Linked DNA regions of Homo sapiens: regions 1, 3 and 4 are each linked to region 2. Evidence: promoter capture Hi-C in 16 types of primary human blood cells and fetal thymus (Javierre and others, 2016). All regions are on one chromosome and are shown on one strand. Each heading gives the region's core, a stretch centred on a gene start or on the middle of the fragment in contact. The rest is flanking DNA. Distances are from core to core; before and after follow the strand shown. Region 1 has its middle 24 kb from the start of RNF24. Region 2 holds the start of CENPB (centromere protein B). Region 3 has its middle 4.4 kb from the start of RNF24. Region 4 overlaps PANK2 (pantothenate kinase 2).

What was found. Contacts are between HindIII fragments. The CHiCAGO score rates a contact against its expected background, and 5 or more counts as called.
Region 1: a fragment that was not itself captured here is called in contact with the fragment with the promoter of CENPB in region 2 in 3 of 17 cell types (naive CD4 T cells, erythroblasts and non-activated CD4 T cells); the score reaches 5.7 in naive CD4 T cells.
Region 3: a contact is called between a fragment that was not itself captured here and the fragment with the promoter of CENPB in region 2, in 12 of 17 cell types (naive CD4 T cells, activated CD4 T cells, non-activated CD4 T cells and 9 more). The highest score is 8.6, in naive CD4 T cells.
Region 4: a fragment that was not itself captured here is called in contact with the fragment with the promoter of CENPB in region 2 in 1 of 17 cell types (erythroblasts); the score reaches 5.5 in erythroblasts.

The regions. Positions count from the first base shown.
Region 1 is chr20:4,036,789-4,042,099 of GRCh38, reverse strand. No RefSeq gene overlaps it. Among named protein-coding and RNA genes, the nearest start is that of RNF24, 24 kb to the right of the region's middle. RefSeq lists an enhancer at 4,107-4,156. The HindIII fragment of the contact is 1,383 bases long and covers 771-2,153 here.
Region 2 is chr20:3,785,185-3,790,633 of GRCh38, reverse strand. It overlaps CENPB (centromere protein B), which reads left to right and starts at 3,894. Exons shown (of 1, transcript NM_001810.6): 1 at 3,894-5,449. The coding sequence starts at 4,151. It also overlaps a transcript of CDC25B not described here. RefSeq lists a silencer at 3,593-3,942 and enhancers at 3,778-4,487, 4,383-4,522, 4,488-5,198. The HindIII fragment of the contact is 5,522 bases long and covers 1,409-5,449 here.
Region 3 is chr20:4,017,135-4,022,804 of GRCh38, reverse strand. No RefSeq gene overlaps it. Among named protein-coding and RNA genes, the nearest start is that of RNF24, 4.4 kb to the right of the region's middle. RefSeq lists an enhancer at 5,520-5,670. The HindIII fragment of the contact is 1,376 bases long and covers 3,018-4,393 here.
Region 4 is chr20:3,919,783-3,925,401 of GRCh38, reverse strand. PANK2 (pantothenate kinase 2) reads right to left here. Exons shown (of 7, transcript NM_001386393.1): 7 at 1-2,158. The coding sequence ends at 2,108. Among named protein-coding and RNA genes, the nearest start is that of MIR103B2, 5.0 kb to the right of the region's middle. The HindIII fragment of the contact is 731 bases long and covers 3,314-4,044 here.

The DNA of each region.
Region 1 (5,311 bases), core at 213-2,712, 250 kb before region 2:
CACCTGACACCACCCAAGCAGGCAGCTGGCGGGCACCTCCTCCCAGCCCCATCCCTGCTGGCTCGCCTCCCACTCCATGCTATGAGTCAGAGCAACCAGAGACTTTATGAGCCCAGGAATGGGCCAACTACCTGATAACCTGATTATGCAAAAAGCCACATGTGAAATTCCCGCCCTCATAACCACGTAATTTACAAGGAAATGAGTCCACCTTCTCCCCAGCCTTTGGCTGCCTGCCCTTCATGAAGGCTCAGTGGAGCTTTTCAGGCCAAAGTAGGAAAACAAAGAAGAAGGGCTCTATCCTGGCCCCCCTCCTGGTCTCTGAGAGCCCCCAACACTCGTCAGTCCACCTCCCAGACTGGAGTGCAGTGGTGCGATCACAGCTTACTGCAGCCTCACCTCCAGGGCTCAAGCCAGCCTCCCAGGTACAGGTGCGTGCCATCACAGCGGTTAGTTTCTATATTTTTAGTAGAGACAGGGTTTTGCCATGTTGCTAAGGCTGGTCTTGAACTCCTGGGCTCAAGTGATCTGCCTGCCTTGGCCTCCCAAAGTGCTGGGATTACAGGTGTGAGCCTCCGTGCCCAGCCTCCTTTCTGTCTTGGCCTCTGCATATTCCTCCAGGCAGTGGGGACCCGAGGAGTGGGAGGCTGGAAGGAGATTTGAAAAGGAGAATCAGGGACAGCCAAAGGGAAAAGGGAGAGAAGAGGATGCTGAAATTAAGAGATCAATAGCGGGGGACTGGGCCTTTCACCTCCTACTACTCAGAAGCTTGGCCTGAGACAAAACTCACCAAATGAAATAGCAAGTCTGTCCCCTGTGTCCTGGAACACCAGACCCAACAGTGAGGCTGGGTCCAGAGTGGGATGATGGCCACTGCTGACCAGTCCACAAGGCAGCTATCCAGCCCCTTTTAACGATCTCCTCTAGCTTTTAGGGTGAGAGCTTCTCATTTTTCTCAGATTCTCTCCAACCTCTGCCTCTATCATTGTTTCTTCTTTCCCTGTGCTCCTTAGGAGCATTTACCATGTGTCAGACATGGTGCTGGGGACAGAGAAATGAGTGAGGCCACACACAGTCCCTGCCTCCTGGAGTCTACAATTAAGTCTTCCATTTTCCTCTTTTTCCTGAATGCCAATGCTCCCTGTGGTTCAGTCTGCAGCATTCGTGTCCTCTCTCTCTCTCTCGCTTTCTCTTCTGAAAGCAAATATTTTTCCCTCTTTTTCTTTTTATGATCTTTGTTTTTAAAAAAGAAATTTAATGGATAAGTTAAATTTCCTCTTTCTCCCAGAGTTCATCATTCTCCTGATTAGTAAGAATATAGCACCTACTATGTGCCAGGCACCTGACACACATTAACTCATTTAATGCTTCAAACAAAGCAGGTAGGCACTATTGCACCATTACTTGCTCCCAGTACCTCCTTCTCCTGCTGCCCTTGCTCTGGATCACTGTGGGTGGTGTATACTTTCCCTACCCCACTGGAATGTGGGTGGAAGCAATATGCCAGTTCTGGGCCAAAGACTCAAGAAGGCATCATGTGCTTTCAGCAGCCACCCATGCATGTGACCTCTGCCCTGAAAAGAACAAGCCCTGGATAGTTGCTGGTGGAGACACGTGGAGCAGACATGAACCTAAGCCACTTCCTGGAGCCCAGTCCAGCAGAGCCACAGCCAACTCACAGGCTTGTGGATAGAAAATAACTGCTTGTGGTTGAAAGCCACTGAGCTTAGGGGTTGTTTGTTACACAGCATTAGGGCAGCAATTGCTGGCTGATACAATTGGCATTTCCCATTTAACACATAAGCAAGCTGAGGCCTGCAGAGGTTAAATAACTTCTCCAAGATTATACAGCTAGTAAGAAAAGGAACTAGGATGCAAATCCAAGCAATCTGGCTGCAAGTCCCACTACTCTATATTGAGTATTAGCATTCCCAAGCATGCTGTTACACTTTTACTATATATGTGTGTGTTTGTGTATGTGTGTATATATGTTTACTATGTTACATACATATATGTTTACTATATATACACAGATATATACATACATAAATGCATATATACATATATACACATATATATGTAAACGTATTGTTTTGCGTGTCTTTAAACTTTATATAAATGGCAACATTAGGCCCGGCACGGTGGCTCAAGCTTGTAATCCAGCAGCTTAGGGGGCCAAGGCAGGTTGATCACTTGAGGTCGGGAGTTTAAGACCAGCCTGGCCAACATAGTGAAACCCTGTCTCTACTAAAAATACAAAAATTAGCCGGGCATGGTGGTGCACGCCTGTAGTCCCAGCTACTTAGGAGGCTGAGGCAGGAGAATCACTTGAACCTGGGAGGCGGAGATTGCAGTGAGCCGAGATCATGCCACTGCACTCCAGCCTGGGCGACAGAGCAAGACTCAGTCTCAAAAATAAATAAATAAATAATACATAAATAAATGGCAACATTATATATATCATTTGGTAGCATGCTTTTTTCACTCAACATCATGCTTTTAGAGTTATCTCTGATGATACTCATAAATCTTGTTTATTTTACCTGCTGTATTCCATTACGTGAATAGATCCAACTTCCTATAAGATGCACATTTCATTTATTTCCAGCTTTTGTTTTTTCAAATTATGCTGCAATGAACATTCCTTGTCTCCTCATGCACATGCAAAGTTTCTCTTGGGTATGTGACTGGAAGTGGAATTGCTGGGTCACAGGCCATGTGTGTCTTCCTCTCTATACAATATTAGCAAATTGCTTTCTAAAGTTTTATTCCAATCTATAGCAGGGTGTGAGATTATCTGCTACTCCACATCCTTGCTATAGTAGAGGATACTGGTGCCCCACACAGATCCCCTTAACAGGCTGGTCCACCCCTGGCCCAGCTGCTGCATGTGTCAGCTGCTAAGGGCTCCCAGAAATCCCCTTGCTGGAGAATCACGCTTGGTCATGGGAGTCCCCCGTCTTGTAACCCCTGCATGATTCCAGGCCCACAGTGGACCTCTATTTATCTGTTTTGAATGGGATCCAAAGGGTAGAAAGAAGAGAGGGAAGCAAGAGAAAGATGCCGCAGTCCCCCTCTTCTTGCCTGGAGCCTCCCAAGCTCCAAGGCAAAGGAAGACAAGGGGAGAGGAAGAGGAGGAAGGAAGAAATGAAGGAATGGCTCCAAGGAGGCGGACAGTAGGGAATATACATTTCAAAGCCTATCCCCTGGGCAGGTGGGCTGGAGAGTGGAAATGGGCAAGCCTCCCCGGGCAGGTGATATCGAAAACCCCGTGTCATCCCCTGCTGGGGAAAGCTGATTCTGCCTCCATCATCCTCTTGCTGACTTACTCCTTCATCTCCTTGCCTTTCTATGCCTGTGACACCTAATTCCCTGAGTCCATTCATTCACCTTGTTTGTTCACTGTATGCATCTCCAGAGAATGTTGTCCCATGCAAAGTAGCAGTTCATTGTTTATTGAGAGAATTAAATGATGAAATTCACTTGGTACCCACAGGATTTTTAATAGGAGACAAAAGGCTTTATAGAAGTTCCAAATTAATAATTTTTCCCCAAGTGTTACCAAACCCTCCATTTATACTCATTGCCCACAGGCACTTCCAATTATGAAACCATAGCCCATTTTCCATCACAAACCTAGTTTCTCTCTTTTTCCTCTCCCTGCTCACAGAGCCCTGCTCCCTCCTGTCGTTCTCTGCGATCCTAGTGCCCTGGGACAGGCTCCACCCGCCCTCTGGGCTGACTGCAGCTCCAGGCCGCACTCCCTTTCGGCTTCATGTGCACATTCTTGGCAGCCATTAAAACTCCTCTCTGAAACCACAGGCTCCACCCTCACCCTGCCTCTCTGCGGCCCTACCTCAGCCAAGGACTTCCTCAGAAGTAGACCCACCCCCCTGTCTTCTCCAAGCTGCTGTCACTGTCACCATCATCTCACTTCCTCTACCTCCTTCCCCCAGACACACACGCACATGCACACAAACACACACAGTCACGCATACACACACCACATGCTATGTAACCACTGAAATATGTCTTCCTCTGTATTTCTGCATTTTAGTTTATAGCCCCTTGTACCACCTTCCCCTTCTCACAGCACTGGCTTCCTCTGGGCAGATGTTGCCAACTCAGAGCCCCTTTTATTCTGAACCCTGGACCATGGGCATGTGGTGGACAGAATAATGATACCCTTCAAGATGCCCACATCCTAATCTCCAGAAGCTGTGAGTATATTACCTCACATGGCACAAGGGACTTTATGATGTGATGTGTTTAAGAATCTCAAGAGCCTGTAATACCAGCCAAGGCGGGCGGATCACTTGAGGTCAGTTCAAGACCAACCTGGGCAACATGGTGAAACCCAGTCTCCGCCAAAAAATACAAAAATTAGTCGGGCATTGTGGCACATGCCTGTAGTCCCCAGCTACTCGGGAGGATGAGGCAGGGGAATCACTTGAACCCGGGAGGCGGAGGTTGCAGTGAGCCGAGATCATGCCACTGCACTCCAGCCTGGGCGACAGAGCAAGACTCCATCTCAAAAAAAAAAAAAAAAAAAGGAGTGGGAAGGCCAGCACAGACAGAACCACCTTTGTGCTTTGGAGAATGCCCTCAGGCAAAGAGATGTAGTTTCTAGTTACAGAGCACACTGTAGTCATGAGTCCCACGTACTGAGGTGGGTACACGTTCAGTCAGCAGTGCCTCCCTCCAGAAAGGAGGCATCCCCCTACCCTTGGCCTCCATACCTTTCCTGCCCAGAGTGGAAAGATGATGGGCTCTGGGTTCTAATTCTGACACCTGAGTAGGAGTCTGTGGAACCCCATCTCAGTCTGGGTTTGTCTAGTGTTTTATCATGATGAGATTGATGTAAGAGATGATACTGTGCTCAACTCAAGGCATCACATCAGGGAGTACCTAATGTCAGTATCAATTATTACTAGTAATACTAACCTTGATCACTTGATTAGGGTGGTATTTACCGGATTTCTCCACTTTTATATTTTTTCCTTCTTAAAACGTTTTTAAAATTTATTTATTTTAAATTTTGTTTTATTCTTTATAACAATAGAGATGAAGTCTCACTCTATTGACCAGGCTGGTCTCAAACTCCTGATCTCAAGCAATCCTCCCATCTCAGCCTCCCCATGTGCTAGAATTACAGGCATAAGCCACTACACCCAGCCATTTTTTCCTTTATAATTAATAAAAATACTTTTAGCAACTATCAGTGAATCTTACTGCAACCATTATTACTATAGGTTTGCCTAATGGTGCTTTTCTATTTCCCTCATTTTTAAACCTAGTTTTAAATTCTTTT
Region 2 (5,449 bases), core at 2,645-5,144:
GCACCATTGCACTCTAGCCTGGGTGACCTCGTGATCCACCCGCCTCGGCCTCCCAAAATGCTGGGATTACAGGCGTGAGCCACCGTGCCCAGCCCGAGATGTTAACTTTTAAGCAAATCTTTTTTTTTTTTTTTTGAGACAGAGTTTCTTGAACCTGGGAGGCGGAGGTTGAAGTTGAAGTGAGCCGAGATTGAGCCACTGCACTCCAGCCTGGGCGACAGAGTGAGACTTGGTCTCAAAAAAAAAAAAAAAAAAAATTCCAAAATGGACTGTGGTGACAGTTGAGCACATCTGTGAACTGTACACTTTAAATGGGTGAATTGTATGCTTCTTGAAATATATCTTAATAAAACCTTTTTTTTTTTTGAGACAGAGTCTCACTCTGTCACCCAGGTTAGAGTACAGTGCCGTAATCTCGGCTCACTGCAATCTCTGCCTTTTCTTTCCTTCCTTCTTTCCTTCTTTCTTTTTCCTCCTTTCTTTCAAAACAAAGTTTGTTACCCAAGCTGTAATGCAGTGGTGCAATCATAGTTCATTGCAGCCTCATGCTCCTGGGCTCAGGTGATCCTCCGGCCCACCCCAGCCTCCCTAGGAGCTAGGACTACAGGCGCAAGGCACTATGCCTAGCTAATTTTTTTTTTTTTTGAGACAGAGTCTTGCTCTGTCGCCCAGGCTGGAGTGCAGTGGCGCGATCTCCGCTCACTGCAAGCTCCACCTCCCGGGTTCACGCCACTCTCCTGCCTCAGCCTCCTGAGTAGCTCGGACTACAGGCGCCCGCCACCATGCCCGGCTAATTTTTTGTATTTTTAATAGAGACGGGGTTCCACCGTGTTAGCCAGGATGATCTCGATCTCCTGACCTCGTAATCTGCCCACCTCGGCCTCCCAAAGTGCTGGGATTACAGGCATGAGCCACCGCGCCCAATGTTGTTCTCTTTATTTTTATTATTTATTATTATTTTTTGGCCGGGTGAGGTGGCTCACGGCTGCAATCCTAGTACTTTGGGAGGCCAAGGTAGGCAGATCACTTGAGGTCAGGAGTTTGAGACTAGCCTGGCCAACATGGTGAAACCCTGTCTGTACTAAAAATACAAAACTAAGCCAGGTATGGTGGTGTACACCTGTGATCCCAGCTACTCAGGAGGCTGAAGCAGGAGAATTGCTTGAACCAGGGAGGAGGAGGTTGCAGTGAGCTGAGATCACGCCACTGCACTCCCAGCCTGGGCAACACAGTGAGACTCCGTCTCAAAAAAAAAAATTAAAAATTAGCCAGGCATGGTGCCTCATGCCTGTAGTCCTAGCTACTGAGGAGACTGAGGCTGCAATGAACTATGATCGTGCAACTGTACTCCGTCCTGGGTGACAGAGCTAGACCCTGTCTCAAATAAACAAAAGGAGAATGGAAAGCTTGCTGAGGGGCCTGAAGGACAGCTCTGGGCAGGCTGGACCAAAAGAAGAGAAGGTGAGTTATGGATTTCCCAAACAGTCCTAAAAGCAGAAAGCTGGGACTTACAGAAAGAGGTGGGGAAGCCCGGGGCCTCAGATGGATTGCTGGGGGAAATGGTCACTTGAGAGGGGATGGAAATGGGCCCCGTGCACTGCTACAGGCAAAGGGTAGACGAGGTATCTGGAAATGGCTATGACATCAGCATATGATGGGCGTGGCTTTTCTGTCCTAGAAGTAATTGTGCCAATGCCCTTTGTATGGCACTAAGGAGGGGCCACAGGAAAGGAAAGGAAAGGAAGAGAAAGGAAGGAAGGAAAGAAAGAAGGAAAGGAAGGAAAAGAGAGAAAGAGAAAGAAAGAAGGGAAGGAAGGAAGGAAAGAAAGAAGGAAAGGAAGGAAAAGAGAGAAAGAGAAAGAAAGAAGGGAAGGAAGGAAGGAAAGAAACAAGGAAAAGGATGAAAGAGAGGAAAGAAAGAAAAGATGCATGGCAAGGAGTTCTCATCCAGGTAATCTTAGATTCATTTTTGCCCAGTGACCACACACTCCTCTTGGGCCAAGCAGTGCTCTGGAAAAGTCTCCCACGTGTTCTTTTGGACCTTGAGATTAAAAGAATATCTTTTATATCTCAGGGATAGGGAAGTCCTCTCTAAGTAAGACACAAAACCCCGAAGCAATAAGGAAAAAATTGACAGGTTGAAGATTAAAAACTTCTCATATCCAAAAGATTCCCTAAACTAACTTAGACAAGTGGCAGACAGGGAGAAAACATTTGCAACATACTTAACAAGATCTTTTCTTCAGAGCATGTAAAGAGCTCCTAAAAGTCAAGAAAAAGACAAACACATGGTCAAAGGATATGACTAGAAAATTCACAGGATTCAAATGGCCAAGAAACATACGAAAACAGAAATTTGCACTAAAACAGCAGTGAGTTACACTTTCTTCCTTTGGCTTCCAGAATGCCACAGTAGCCTGGTTTTTCTCCTGCTTCAGGGGCTCCTCCACTTCAAGAGTCTCTATTTGGTTCTTTCTTTCTTTCTTTCTTTTTTTTTGAGATGGAGTCTCACTCTTTTGCCCAGGCTGGAGTGCAGTGGCATGATCTTGGCTCCCTGCAACCTCTGCCTCCCAGGCTCAAGCGATTCTCCTGCCTCAGCCTCCCGAATAGCTGGGACTACAGGTGAGTGCCACCACACTTGGCTAATTTTTTGTATTTTTAGTAGAGACGGAGTTTCACTATATTGGCCAGGCTGGTCTTGAACTCCTGATCTCAAGTGGTCCCGCCTGCTTCGGCCTCCTAAAGTGCTGGGATTACAGACGTGAGCCACTGCACCTGGCCTCTTTCTTGAGCCCTTAACCTTGGAGGACCCAGGGCACTGTCCTTGGTCCTCTTTTCTTCTTTGTCTACACTCACCCACAGCTTCATCCAGCCCCAGGTCCTCAGCCTGTCCCCCTGGGTCACAGCCTTCCCCTCTGCCAATGCTGGAGTTCCCCTTAGTGCTGCCCTAAGAGATTTTTAAAAACACAGCTATACATTCATTGTTTTAAGAGCTTGGCATTTTAATGTTTTGCTGCAGGAGAGGGAGGCTTCAGGGATTCACACTTATGTATATACATGATGTTATTTCTGTAAGTGCAAACACATACATTTATGGCTATATGCATGGAAAAGCCCAGAAAGTGACACACCAAGATGTTATGAGTGTTTATCTATGGGTTGTGGGATTACTAGAACTTTAAAAATGTCATTAGCACCATCAAATAGATTTACAACTGTAATGCTGATTTTAAAAATAACTTAAGTGTGTAACAATAGGTTACATACGCTAGTGTTCATTCATAGCTGGAATGCTACACAATCATTAAAAAGCGTGTTGGCAATGATACTTACCGATATGGCAAAATTCTCACTACTTGATGCCAGGTAAAACAGCAGGAGATGCCAGATATACAGTCTATACAGTCTGATGCCAGTTTTATATAATAAATTTTTAAAAAGAAAACGACATGCATCTAGAGAAAAGACTGGAAGGAAATGTATCAAAATGTTACCTGTGCATCTCTCCAGGTGACGTGAAAAGCGTTTTTCAACTTCTTGAATTTTTCAGGTTCCGCAAAAAAAAAAGTGCGTTATTTTTACCTTAATTAAAAAAAAAAAAAACAAACAAAAACCCTGGTTCTTATTCTTTTTGAGCAGCAAGTCGCTGTCCGCCGGGCGCAGTAGCGATGCACCGCGTCCCCGCCCGCGTCGCTGCCGGGTCGCCGGAGGCCGCAGCACGGGCAGGTCCAGCAGGCCGCAGCGCCCCCCCGCGGTATGTCCCGGCGGCGGGAAGGGGGTGGGCGCGGAGGGCGGGGAGGAGGCGCCGGGCGTCCCCGCGCTTCCCGCGAGATCCCGCTCCGCCCGCTCCGCCCCGCTCGCCGCGCTCCCAGCTCCCCGCGCCGCGGCACTTCCTGCCTTCCGCGCCCGCGCCGCCCGCCCTCGTCTGCGCCCGTCGCCTGCCGCCCGCCGCCCGGCGACGCGCCCGCCGGCGTCCCCGGAGGTGCCCCCGGCCCGGCCGGGTCGTCGCCCCGCCGCCGCGCCCGCGAGCCGCTTTGTCTCGGGCGGGGCGCGCGGGAGAGGCCGCCAGGTGCCCCCCGCCACGGGCCCGGGCCCCCCGCCCCGGGGCGGCGGCGGCGGCGCCGGGCCCCGGGGCGGGGGGCGCGCCGGGATGGGCCCCAAGAGGCGACAGCTGACGTTCCGGGAGAAGTCACGGATCATCCAGGAGGTGGAGGAGAATCCGGACCTGCGCAAGGGCGAGATCGCGCGGCGCTTCAACATCCCGCCGTCCACGCTGAGCACGATCCTGAAGAACAAGCGCGCCATCCTGGCGTCGGAGCGCAAGTACGGGGTGGCCTCCACCTGCCGCAAGACCAACAAGCTGTCTCCCTACGACAAGCTCGAGGGCTTGCTCATCGCCTGGTTCCAGCAGATCCGCGCCGCCGGCCTGCCGGTCAAGGGCATCATCCTCAAGGAGAAGGCGCTGCGCATAGCCGAGGAGCTGGGCATGGACGACTTCACCGCCTCCAACGGCTGGCTGGACCGCTTCCGCCGGCGCCACGGCGTGGTGTCCTGCAGCGGCGTGGCCCGCGCCCGCGCGCGAAACGCTGCCCCCCGCACCCCGGCGGCGCCTGCCAGTCCGGCCGCGGTGCCCTCGGAGGGCAGTGGCGGGAGCACTACTGGTTGGCGCGCTCGGGAGGAGCAGCCGCCGTCGGTGGCCGAGGGCTACGCCTCGCAGGACGTGTTCAGCGCCACCGAGACCAGTCTATGGTACGACTTCCTGCCCGACCAGGCCGCGGGGCTGTGCGGAGGCGACGGACGGCCGCGTCAAGCCACCCAGCGCCTGAGCGTCCTGCTATGCGCCAATGCCGACGGCAGCGAGAAGCTGCCCCCGCTGGTGGCCGGCAAGTCGGCCAAGCCCCGCGCAGGCCAAGCCGGCCTGCCCTGCGACTACACCGCCAACTCCAAGGGTGGTGTCACCACCCAGGCCCTGGCCAAGTACTTGAAGGCCTTGGACACCCGAATGGCTGCAGAGTCTCGCCGGGTCCTGCTGTTGGCCGGCCGCTTGGCTGCCCAGTCCTTGGACACCTCGGGCCTGCGGCATGTGCAGCTGGCCTTCTTCCCTCCCGGCACCGTGCATCCGCTGGAGAGGGGAGTGGTCCAGCAGGTGAAGGGCCACTACCGCCAGGCCATGCTGCTCAAGGCCATGGCCGCGCTAGAGGGCCAGGATCCCTCAGGCCTGCAGCTGGGTCTCACGGAGGCCCTGCACTTTGTGGCTGCCGCCTGGCAGGCAGTGGAGCCTTCGGACATAGCCGCCTGCTTTCGTGAGGCTGGCTTTGGGGGTGGCCCTAATGCCACCATCACCACTTCCCTCAAGAGTGAGGGAGAGGAAGAGGAGGAGGAGGAGGAAGAAGAGGAGGAGGAAGAGGGTGAAGGAGAGGAAGAGGAGGAGGAAGGGGAGGAGGAGGAG
Region 3 (5,670 bases), core at 2,456-4,955, 230 kb before region 2:
TTTTTACTCTCTCCGGAGGTGAAATCTCCAGCCCTCTGCCTGATGAGAGAGAGAAACCTGCTGCTCGGAGAGTGGAAGAGGGGAACTAAGATTTTAACTGCTTCCCAATCACCTTTCACCCAGTTATCCTGATTCTTTGGCTTGCCCAGTACCAGAGATATCTAGGACTGCCAATTCCCATTTTTTTTTCTGTTTTTCTTTCTTTCCCCACCCCCCCTTGGATTTTGCCATGAAAATAGGGCTACTCTTAACTTTCCCTGGGTTTCAGCTTTCTTGGGGCTGCTGAGTCGATTACCACTCACCCATCTGTTTTCTATCTTCCAACTTATTTTTCCCCCACTATTGTCTACTCTGTTCTCTCTGTCCTCATGAGTTTGTGTCTTTAAACAAAATCCCTTTATAATAGTTTTAGTGAGTTTTGGGAGGAGCAAAAGTAGATGGGTGGATTCAATGCACCATCTTAACCTGGAAAAAAACTCCAATGGTATTAGGGAGATGTCTCCTCCCTGCATTCCCCTCCTTGTGAGCCCCTTTGGATGACAGACAGGCAAGTGAGAAACTAAGTAATGGAACCAAAGGCCTGGGATGGAAGCCGTGTCTCCCCATGGACAATGCTGTTCCACTACAGAATCCAAGCTTCTTCCCTCAGTCATGGCCTGAGTCAGCCTTTGAGGGAATAAAGGGCTGGAGTCCAGATTATGATGGCGTAGGTTGGAAGGGTAGGAAGCCAAGAAAAACTAAGGAAGCCTGCCTGGAGGAAGCACTGCAGCAGCAGGAAAAGCAGAAGATACAGAGTCTCTTTATCTGCATGGTGTCCTTATCTCCCAAATGAGAGAATTCATCTCTTCCAACTCTGCATCTATGACTCTGTGGGGATAAAAGTCACTCCAGAAAGCCTGTCTGCTTTCTTGCCCTGTTCCTCTTTCCCGTCTGTTGCTTTGGGATGAGGTGATAATGATTGGGAACTATTTGGGTAGATTGGATAGGTTGAAATGGAGGAAAAAGAAAACCAGCATAGTTCCTTTTTCCTAGAATGAGTTATGGGCAAAGATATATCATTCCACTTTATTCCTTTCTCTTTAAAGCTCAGGCCTAACAGAACCTAGCAGAGAGAAAAGGCAGTGATATAATTGGCTGGGGGAAATTGGAGGGGCAGAAGCTGTGATGATGGTGGTAGCCAAATGGTGGTCACAGCTGTGGGGGTTGTGTAATCAATAACTGGAGGAGCTTAGCAGAGCGGCTTGCTTTGTTCCATAGATGTAACTTGAAAGTACCCTCTGGGAGGCTGAGCTGGGCAGATCACTCAAGGCCAGGATTTTGAGACCAGCCTGGCCAACATGGCAAAACCCTGTCTCTACTAAGAATACAAAATTTAGCTGGGCATGGTGGCACACGCCTGTAATCCCAACTATTCAGGAGGCTGAGGCACAAGAATCACTTGAACAACCAGGAGGCAGAGGTTGCAATGAGTCTAGATGGCGCCACTGCACTCCAGCCTGGGTGACAAGAGTGAGACTCTGTCTCAAAAAAAGAAAAGAAAAGAAAAGAGGGCCAGGCGCGGTGGCTCATGCCTGTAATCCCAGCACTTTGGGAGGCCAAGGCAGGTGGATCACGTGAGGTCGGGAGTTCAAGACCAGCCTGACCAACATGGAGAAACCCCGTCTCTACTAAAAAAATACAAAATTAGCCAGGCATGGTGGCGCATGCCTGTAATCCCAGCTACCTGAGAGGCTGAGGCAGGAGAATCTCTTGAACCCGGGAGGCGGAGGTTGCAGTGAGCTGAGATCATGCCACTGCACTCCTGCCTGGGCAACAAGAGCGAAACTCCGTCTCAAAAAAAAAAAGAAAAGAAAAGCAACCAAGACACTGAAGTCAGTGGAGAAATACTCTGGCCTCCTGGTCATCCAGGCAGACAATGCTGAGGGCTGTTCTACAAGGTTTCTCAGTGGACGCCAAGCCAGACTGAGCCTCAGTTGCCCATGGCAGTAACTGGCCCATCAGCATACCTTACTGTTGGCTTCTCTCCCTTTCACAGCTTGCTTTCCCCATTTCTTCACTCTTATTTCCTGGAATCACCTCCCAAGTAAATTACCTACATCCAAGCCCTTGTCTTAAGATCTGTTCTTGGGAGAATCCACGCTGAGATGGGTATCCTCCAATCTAAAAGTGAGTCTGAGCAGGTTGTTCCACCCCTGGGAAATAGTGCTTCCAGTCTCCTGCATGTGTGGCTGGTCTCAGCTAAAAAGCTCCCACATGAGATCTTGAGAACATTTATATTTTCAGGAGTTCTGGGTGATTGGGCTTGTGTGTGCCAGAAAGGCAACGGGGCTTGTTGGTGGCTGGGTAAACAGAATCCCAGGTTCCCACCTCCTTCGCTGGCTTGTGGGTGGACACACAGCCAGTCCTAAAGGTACCATGCACACAGAAACCTACGCTTTCTCCCCAACTCTTGCTGTTTCACAGTCTTGCACACACATTCTGCATTAAGAAGCAATTCCGGTGGCTCATGCCTGTAATTCCAGCACTTTGGGAGGCCGAGGCGGGTGGATCTTGAGGTCAGGAGTTCGAGACCAGCCTGGCCAAGATGGTGAAACCCTGTCTCTTCTAAAAATACAAAAATTAGCTGGGCGCAGTGGCAGGTGCCTGTAATCCCAACTACTCGGGAGGCTGAGGCAGGAGAATCACTTGAACCCAGGAGGCGGAGGTTACAGTGAGCCAAGATTGCACCACTGCACTCTAGCCTGGGCGACAGAGAGACTTCATCTAAAAAAAAAAAAAGAAGAAGCAATTCCACCCCTCCGTGGGCAGCGTCACGCCCCAGCAAGAGGTCCCCATGGGCTATGAGGAGGAGAGGGCCATTGGGAGGGATCAAGGCAGGAGGAGTCACTTTGGAATTCTTGGATGAAGAGGCTCGGGGAACACAGAACATCTCCTCCTCTACTGGCACAGTCCAACGGGTCAAAGCATTATATGATCAACCCTTAAAGGGGTCATTTAGAACTCTGAATAATTAAGCTTTCAAAGGATTGACCAGTGGGAGGGATGTTTTTCTGAAATCGTGCCATCTCAACAGATGGGGAGGATGGACAGAGGAATGGGGCTATAGGCAACCTTTGATTTCTAGCTTCTGTTTGAAAGACTGATTTTGTCTTGACCAGTCAGGCATTCATTCAACAAACTTGTATTGGGCACCTGATCCAAAGATGACTAAAACCAGCCCCTGTTCTCACTGTTCCAAAATTAGTCAGACGTTTGATTTAAAAGTAGTTGTGATTTCTTTTCCAGGAGTCTTGAAGGACTTCTGACCATATGGGTAGGGACAATTTTCTGAGATGGATTTGGGGTGAGGACATTGCTTAAAAGGAGGTATAAGGGCTGGGCGTGGTGGCTTACACCTGTAATCCCAGCAATTTCGGAGGCCGAGGCAGGTGGATCACCTCAGGTCAGGAGTTTGAGACAAGCCTGACCAACATGGAGAAACCCCGTCTCTACTAAAAATACAAAATTAGCTGGGCGTGGTGGCGCATGCCTGTAATCCCAGCTACTCAGGAGGCTGAGGCAGGAGAATTGCTTGAACCTGGGAGATGGAGGTTGCAGTGAGCCGAGATGGCGCCACTGTACTCCAGCCCAGGCAACAAGAGCGAAACTCCATCTCAAAAAAAAAAAAAAAAAAAAAAAAGAGGTATAAGGGAGGAGATGGGAGGGGACTGTGGGGAGGAAGGATAAAGAGAAAGAGGGGCATCCTCCGAAACTCCAAACAGTGAAGTCTTCCCTACCCTACCCCTACCCATCATGTGGAACAAGGAAAATGTTAGCTGCGAAGCCACCACTTCAAGTCCTAGCTGCCTGCTGTTTTGAGGTACCCACCTAAACCCTCCAGAGAAAGAATTGCCCACCCACACTCTCCCATCACTTGCATTTTGCCTAGACCAGTGGGGGCTGGGAGTGGTGGGGGGATGAGTAGACTCATGTGCATCACTAAGCAAAGAGGATCAGGGACTAGCAGGTGAACCTCCAGCCGGAAGCACCAGGAGGACAAAAACTGTGATTTCTTCCTTAAGGGGAACACGGGACAACCCGCTACAGGGGACAGAAGAGCAGGATCCTGCCATATGTTGTAGAAACTGTGAGGCCAGATTCCACCTGTCCAGTCCCAAAGGAAAACTTTCTCCTTGACCCTAAAAACCAGTTGGGCCAGTTGATGACACAGCAAAATTTTAATAAGATGAGTCTCCCTGAAAACAGCAACTGGACACGGCCCCTCCTCCTTCCGTTCATTCTCTCATTCTCTTTCCCACTCACCCCTAATTTTTTCAAGAACAAAAGACATGAAATGAGCCACTCCATCCTCTACCCTACAGCCTGATTGGACTAGTGAATTACTAGCCAAGCTTTCTAAACAAACAAACAAAACAGGTTTCCAAACGCAGGGCAGAGGAAGGAAGCCAAAATAAGGAAGAAGAAAGAAAAGGAGCTCAGCCTTTCCTTCTCCTGTGGAGCCTCCCCAGCCCACCAGGGAACATCACCTCCACCAATAGCCACAGCAGACCCACTATGTGCCAGTCACATATTAGGTCCTGGGAGATACTGATCCTGCTGATGAAGGACTCACATGCTGGTGTGGTAAGAAAATATGCAAATGAGCAGGGACCTTGGAGGGTGCCTAGTGCTGAGAGGGAAGTGGGTACAGGGCACAGGTGGGGATTCTCAAGGAAAGTCTGTCAATAAGTGGGGGCAGAAAAAAATACTTTATCAAAAATGACTTTGTAAATACTTTACTTTTTTTTAGAGCAGTTTTAAGTTTGCCACAAAAGTGAGAGGAATGTGCAGAGTTCCCAACTAGCCCTTCCCCCCTACACATACATAGCCCCCCCATTATAAACATTCTCCCACGGGAGCATTTATTACTATTGTTGGACCTACATTGGCACATCATTATCACCCAAAATCCATGTTTACATTAGAGTTTGCTGCTGGTATTATTCATTCTATGGATTTAGACAAATGTGTCATGACAGGTATCCACCATTATGGTATCATACACAGAGTATTTTCACTGCCCTAAAAAGCATCTGTGGATTTTCAGAGAAAAGAGCAACTTTTGCATGCTAGGTAAGTATTGCTTTCCTAGTAGGGGAACAGCAGGAAACAGCAGTCACCTTGGTGACTACTGAGGTGAAACACCATGGTGCTGTTCTGTAAATGGCTGGAAAATAAGGCTCAAGGAGCCAGATGGGGCAGGGAAAAAGAAAAAGACAGAAACACAGGCAGATTTGAATACCATGAGAATCGATTTGCATGAGAATGGATTGAGACTTCTGCAACAGCCCAGGGGAGAGATGAGGGGGCTGATTTAGAACAGTGAGAGGTTTGAGCAAAGCAAAGTTGAAAAGACCCTCCAGGTAACTGCTATGATTGACAGCAAGGAGGGCAGTGTTCCCCCAGCACAGCCCTGGCACAGGCAGCTCTAGAGGAAGCCTGGGTCTCCCACTCCCTTCCTTTTGCCACAGTCTCCCTAGCACATGCCTCCACCCTTCTCTCACTTTGGGGGACTGTGACCATTGGGTGGCAGGTGACTTCTTGAGAAATTCACTAATGTTTCCCTCTTTACTTCCTCCCTGCCTTGGTGGTTAATGGTTTGCCAAAGCAGAAGGAACATGCCTCTAGGCG
Region 4 (5,619 bases), core at 2,430-4,929, 130 kb before region 2:
ATTAGCCAGCCATGGTGGCACATGCCTGTAGTCTCAGCTACGCAGGAGGCTAAGGCAGGAGAATTGCTTGAGCCTGGAAGGCAGAGGTTGCAGTGAGCTGAGATCGCCCCACTGCACTCCACCTGGGTGACACAGCGAGACTGTCTCAAAAACCCTGCTGTGGAGTGACAGGGTTTACTGAGCACAAGGTGGAACATGAGGGAATGGACTAGTTTCTCTAGAGTAGGGGGAGGGCCCACGGAGGAGGAAGCTCAAAGCGAGGCAGAAGGGGACATCAACAGCGTCTTCCCAACTCAGGCACCAGAGACAGACAGTCCCGGGTTTGAGTCCAGCTCTACTCTTTTCCAGCTGAGTGACCCTGGGCAGCCTTACTCATCCGTTCAGTTTCCTTTTCTGTTAAATTGTGGGAACAGCAAGGGCTGCATGGTGACCCACGTCGAGCAGTGGACAACCTCCTGAACGCAGCACAGCAGAGGCAGCAGGACCACAAAACAGGGGCCTCAGAGGGGCAGGCCCTGGCCTCGGTCTCCATGGGAAGTGAGCAAGTTCACAGGAGTTGGCCCAGGGAGCAGCACCCTGTGGTACAAGCAGGAGGATGGTGGTGCCATCTTTGGTGCCTGGGTACTGGAGGAGGGTGAGGCCACCAACAGCGCTGCTGGCAGCAGAGGAGGGCAGAGGAACTCAGGATCAGGGCGTCAGAGGTAGTATAGGCCAGGAGCCTGCAAACAGCAGCAGCAGGGAAGAGGGTCACCAATCACTCTCCAGGGGACAAAATTACCCTCCACGCAGCAGCCATCCTGCTCTGCACCCACACAAGGTCCCAATGCAGCAGCACCCATATTTCCTAAGTGCCAAGGCCCATGTGCAGAGGTGGCCACGCCTAGTGGAACAGCCCACAGCCCACATATCAGTTCCCCTTGCCCCAGCTGGAACACGGGTGTCTCTGCTGCCTCCATGCGGCTGGCACCCTGCCCATCCCTCCCTGACCACAGCCTTAAACGGAGGGGAGCAGGGAGGCTGCAGAGCCTTGGGGTTTTCCCTCCTGGTCCAAGGCTGCTTTGTACAGGCCCATCCTTGCCTTCAACAGCAATATGGGCACCACTTAAGACCTCAGATATAAAAGGTGCATTCTCTCCTTGGGAAAGGCTTTTGAAATTATTCTGCAAAGCAGAAAGAAAAGCTTCAGCCCCTACCAAGAGCACCTGCAGCCTGGCACTCTCCTCAGGCAGTCTTCTGAGACTCACCTCCCAAGTGCCACAGTGCCCTGAAGGACCCCCCACTCCCCATGAGTTCTTTGACAGACACTTCAGTTCTTCCTTTTCTACTTAGCCTGAAAGAAAAACCAGATTCTCCCTGATCCCCTGAGGGGGTGTCAATTCTAGTGGCCCTGCTGACTCATGTTAGTCCTCCAGATTGTGCTGCTTCTGCCAGTGTACCCACTTGCATCAGAACAGTCCGCCCACTACCCAAGGAAATTCTGCCAAGAAAAGAAGCCCTGTCTCTCCAGACATTCATTCCCAGGATTTAGTGTAAAGTAACGTGGAACTGCCCTTCCAAAAACTGCTTGTTAAGTTTCAGGTACACAATTAACCTGCCCAATTAATTTTGCAGAACCTTGAAATAAAACATGTTTTACAGTAAGTTCACACACAGGCTTAATGCAAACCAGAGTAATGCACAGATGATTGCCAAGACCATATTGACAAATTGTGATTAGATTATAACGCATAGTAGCCTGCCTTACATTCAGCAAGTTCAAACAGGACACAAAACCAGTCAACTGAACACAGAGCAGCTCTCTTCAGAAGCACTTCCAATGAGTGATGCAGAGATTTCAAAAATACAAAGCAGGCAACTTATATACAGCAAATCCTCACACTGCCTGGACATGTGCCACTTTTTTGTTGTTTTTAATATATTTTTCCTTCCTGGTTGCTAATTTAGACTGAATTCTTAAGGATTTATCTTGATGACTTAGAAAAATACACCTGTCCTTTCTCACTTTGTTTCAGGTAGTACAGTCATGAAATTGAGTAAGTCTCTTAAAAAAATGAAAGTCCACAGATCCCATTGTGGAAGGTTTCAGGAACCCCTCCCCAGGTAATGATCACGGGATCTTCAACAGCTCAAGGAGTGCTCCAACAGCTCCAAAATAACCCTGAAAGAAAATACACCAAAAATAAGTGCAATTTTCCTTAGACTTATTCAAATCACCTTACACATGATGACTAGTGTTAAAGCCAACCACTGCCCACACACAGCATACCCATTTCCTGAGCACCCCAGAAGGGCCAAGGCCAGCCTGGGAGCAGAGACGCCCTAAGGAGTCCCTGTCTGGGGAGGGGGCTGGATGTCCTAGACTATCCAAGCACTTCAGACCACTGTGATAAGAGGAAAACCAAACCCGCAGTGAGGGCGACAGGAGCTATGAGGCCAGCAGCAGCTCAGTTACCTCTGGTAAGAGACAGAACCTGACTGTTTCTGGGGAATGAGGTGAGAAGCAGCAGAGGCCTGGAGCATTTCCAGACAACTAAGGAATGAAGGCGAGGTCGGATGCAAAGTGCAATGAAACAGGTGAAGTTGTGAGGTGGGTCACAGAGGGTGAGAGCCCGACTGAGCTGGGAGAGGGAGGGAGAGTAAGAGATAAGATGGATTCAAGATTCACCCCTAACAGAGGACAGGACAGCAGGAGGGGGCAGCATCCCCGAGAAAGGGGACACAGGAGTAAGAGGTGTGGAGAGCAAGGCCGGTGGGTGAGTTCCCTACAGGACATGGGAAGCTGAGGTGCCCACAGCAGCCAAGCAGCTGTGCCCGGGTGGTCACCAGACACCTGGATCACTGGCCCAGAAGCAGGCGGCACAGGAATGAAAACCACCACCCAAAGGTAACGTGAAGAGAGGTACAGAACAAAGAGCAAAGCCTGAGGAAGCACGGAGGCTCCCGAGGGAGGGCAGCCCTCAGCCCTCCTGAGACACAGAAGCAGCAGCTGAGAGACGACAAGCACTGTACTGTCTCCAGAAGCAGTCAGGTCACATGCAACCAAGAACTCAAAACCAAAACACAGGAATAGCACATTAGAGAAAACGGGGCAAACCCCATAATGACAGAAAAGAGAACACTAGCAAGAATCAGAGGCAAATCCTAAAACGATGCAGAATCCATCAGGGTCTCCAACCTGTAAGGTAAGATATCAGACTACTTTTTAAAAGAAATAACTAAAAAAGGAATGAGAAGATCCTGAAAGACTTGTGTATGGATTTTTTAAAAGTCTCTGAAACATAAATAACTACCACTCTATCTTTCACGAAAAGCTTCTTCAAGAAACCTGATCAAACGAGAGGCCAAAGGCTTTCTTGTCACACTCTAGTTGGCAATTTAAAAGAAAGGCATATTGGCTGGGCGCAGTGGCTCACAGGTAACCCAGCACTTCGGGAGGCCAAGGCAGGTGGATCACTTGAGGTCTGGAGCTCAAGACCAGCCTGGCCAATATGGCAAACCCCGTGTCTCTACTAAAAATACAAAAATTAGCCAGGTGCGGTGGCACGTGCCTGTAGTCCCATCTACTCAGGAGGCTTAGACAAGAGAATCACTTGAACCCAGGAGGCAGAAGTTAAAGTGAGCCGAGACTGCGCCACTGCACTCCAGCCTGGCTGACAGAGTAAGACCCCATCTCAAAAAACAAAAAAAAGAAAGGCATATTGACCATCTTTGGTTTTGGTGTGTATAAATAAAATAAAGGCAGCCACACCAATCTGTGATGTGAGGCGGCCAGCAGCTACAGGACAAGGCACAGCTGAAATACAGAGGCAAGGCTGTTTGTCTTAATAGTTCACTATACAGTTTGTTTTAGGCAGCTTTCTGTACCTTTTATTTTATAATAAAAATATAGAAGATACAGTTAACCATTATATATATATATGGGGGGGGTCCACTGAAGACTAGGATGCTACTATCAAGACAGAAACAGGTGGTTATAAACTACAACGTGCTAAGATGAGAATAAAGGATCAAAGAGGAAACGCTTGAGAGAATCTATACGAAGCTTTCACAACAAAAGTTAAAGTGACTTCAATGTGAGGGCAAGAAAATATTTCAAGGCTCAGAGAGGCTAAAATAATCAAAGTTCTGAACTGAACAATGAGAACACTTGGACACAGGAAGGGGAACATCCCACACCAGGGCCTGCCATGGGGTGGGGGGAGGGGGGAGGGATAGCATTAGGAGATATACTTAATGTAAATGACGAGTTAATGGGTGCAGCACACCAACATGGCACATGTATACGTATGTAACAAACCTGCGCGTTGTGCACATGTATCCTAGAACTTAAATAAAAAAATAAAATAAAATAATCATCAAAGTTCCACAAGGGCAGAGATGCACACAAGAGTCAAAGGCCTGAATGCAAATGGAAAACACAGGGACAAATGGACCAGCAAAGCTAAGCAGTGGGAAAAACAAAGTCAGCGAGCAATAAGGACAAAATGCAACCAAGAATTTCACGAAGGCTTATAACTATTATGATGATATCGGTTTGGTGTTTTGTTTTTTGTTTTGAGATGGAGTTTCGCTCTTGTTGCCCAGGCTGGAGTGCAGTGGTGCGATCTCGGCTCACCGCAACCTCTGCCTCCCGGGTTCAAGAGATTTTCCCACCTCAGCCTCCCAAGTAGCTGGGATTACAGGTATGTGCCACCACGTCCAGCTAATTTTTGTATTTTTTGTAGAGACAGGGCTTCTCCATGTTGGTCAGGCTGGTCTTGAACTCCTGACCTCATGATCCGCCCACCTCGGCCTCCCAAAGTGCTGGGATTACAGGCGTGAGCCGCTGCACCTGGCCTGTTTGGTGTTTTTGTTTGTTTTGTTGTTGTTGTTTGTTTTTGTTTTTGAGACAGAGTCTCGTTCTGTTGCCCAGGCTGTAGTACAGTGGTGCGATCTCAGCTCACTGCAACCTCCGCCTCCCAGATTCAAGAGATTCTCCTGTCTCAGCCTCCCGAGTAGCTGGGGATTATAGGCGCCCGCCATTGCGCCCAGCTAATTTTTGTATTTTTAGTAGAGACAGGGTTTTGCCACATTGACCATGGTTGGCCAGGCTGGTCTCCTGACCTTAGGTGATCTGCCCATCTCAGCCTCCCAAAGTGCTGGGATTACAGACGTGAGCCACCGCACCCAGCCTATTTTTTTTTTAAGGTTAACTTAAAAAACTAATCTCCATGTTCTACCTAGGAAAAGGTTAAACAAGAGGCAGAAATAAAGCAGAAAAAGATCTAACATTCGAGTTTAAAAAATTCTAATATAAAGCAAAATAAAATAAGTCAGATCACAAAAAAAGATGTATACAGAAACATGAACTGTAAGAAACTTAATGGCAATTCGGTGCTGGTTTACAAATACAGTAATGTTAGAATTTTAAAACTAAGTTAGATGACTTCAATTTTAAGCTTTTTGATATGGGGATTTGTGTACTTTGGACTTCAACTATGAACTAAAGCAATTTAAAAAGAAAAACTTAAAGTAACTTTAAAGGAAAAAGTAATCTCTAGCACTTCAAATCTGTGCTATTATCTGGACTTTGATTTCCTTTAATTCATATAGACTGTTAAACTAAATATGCAATACAAT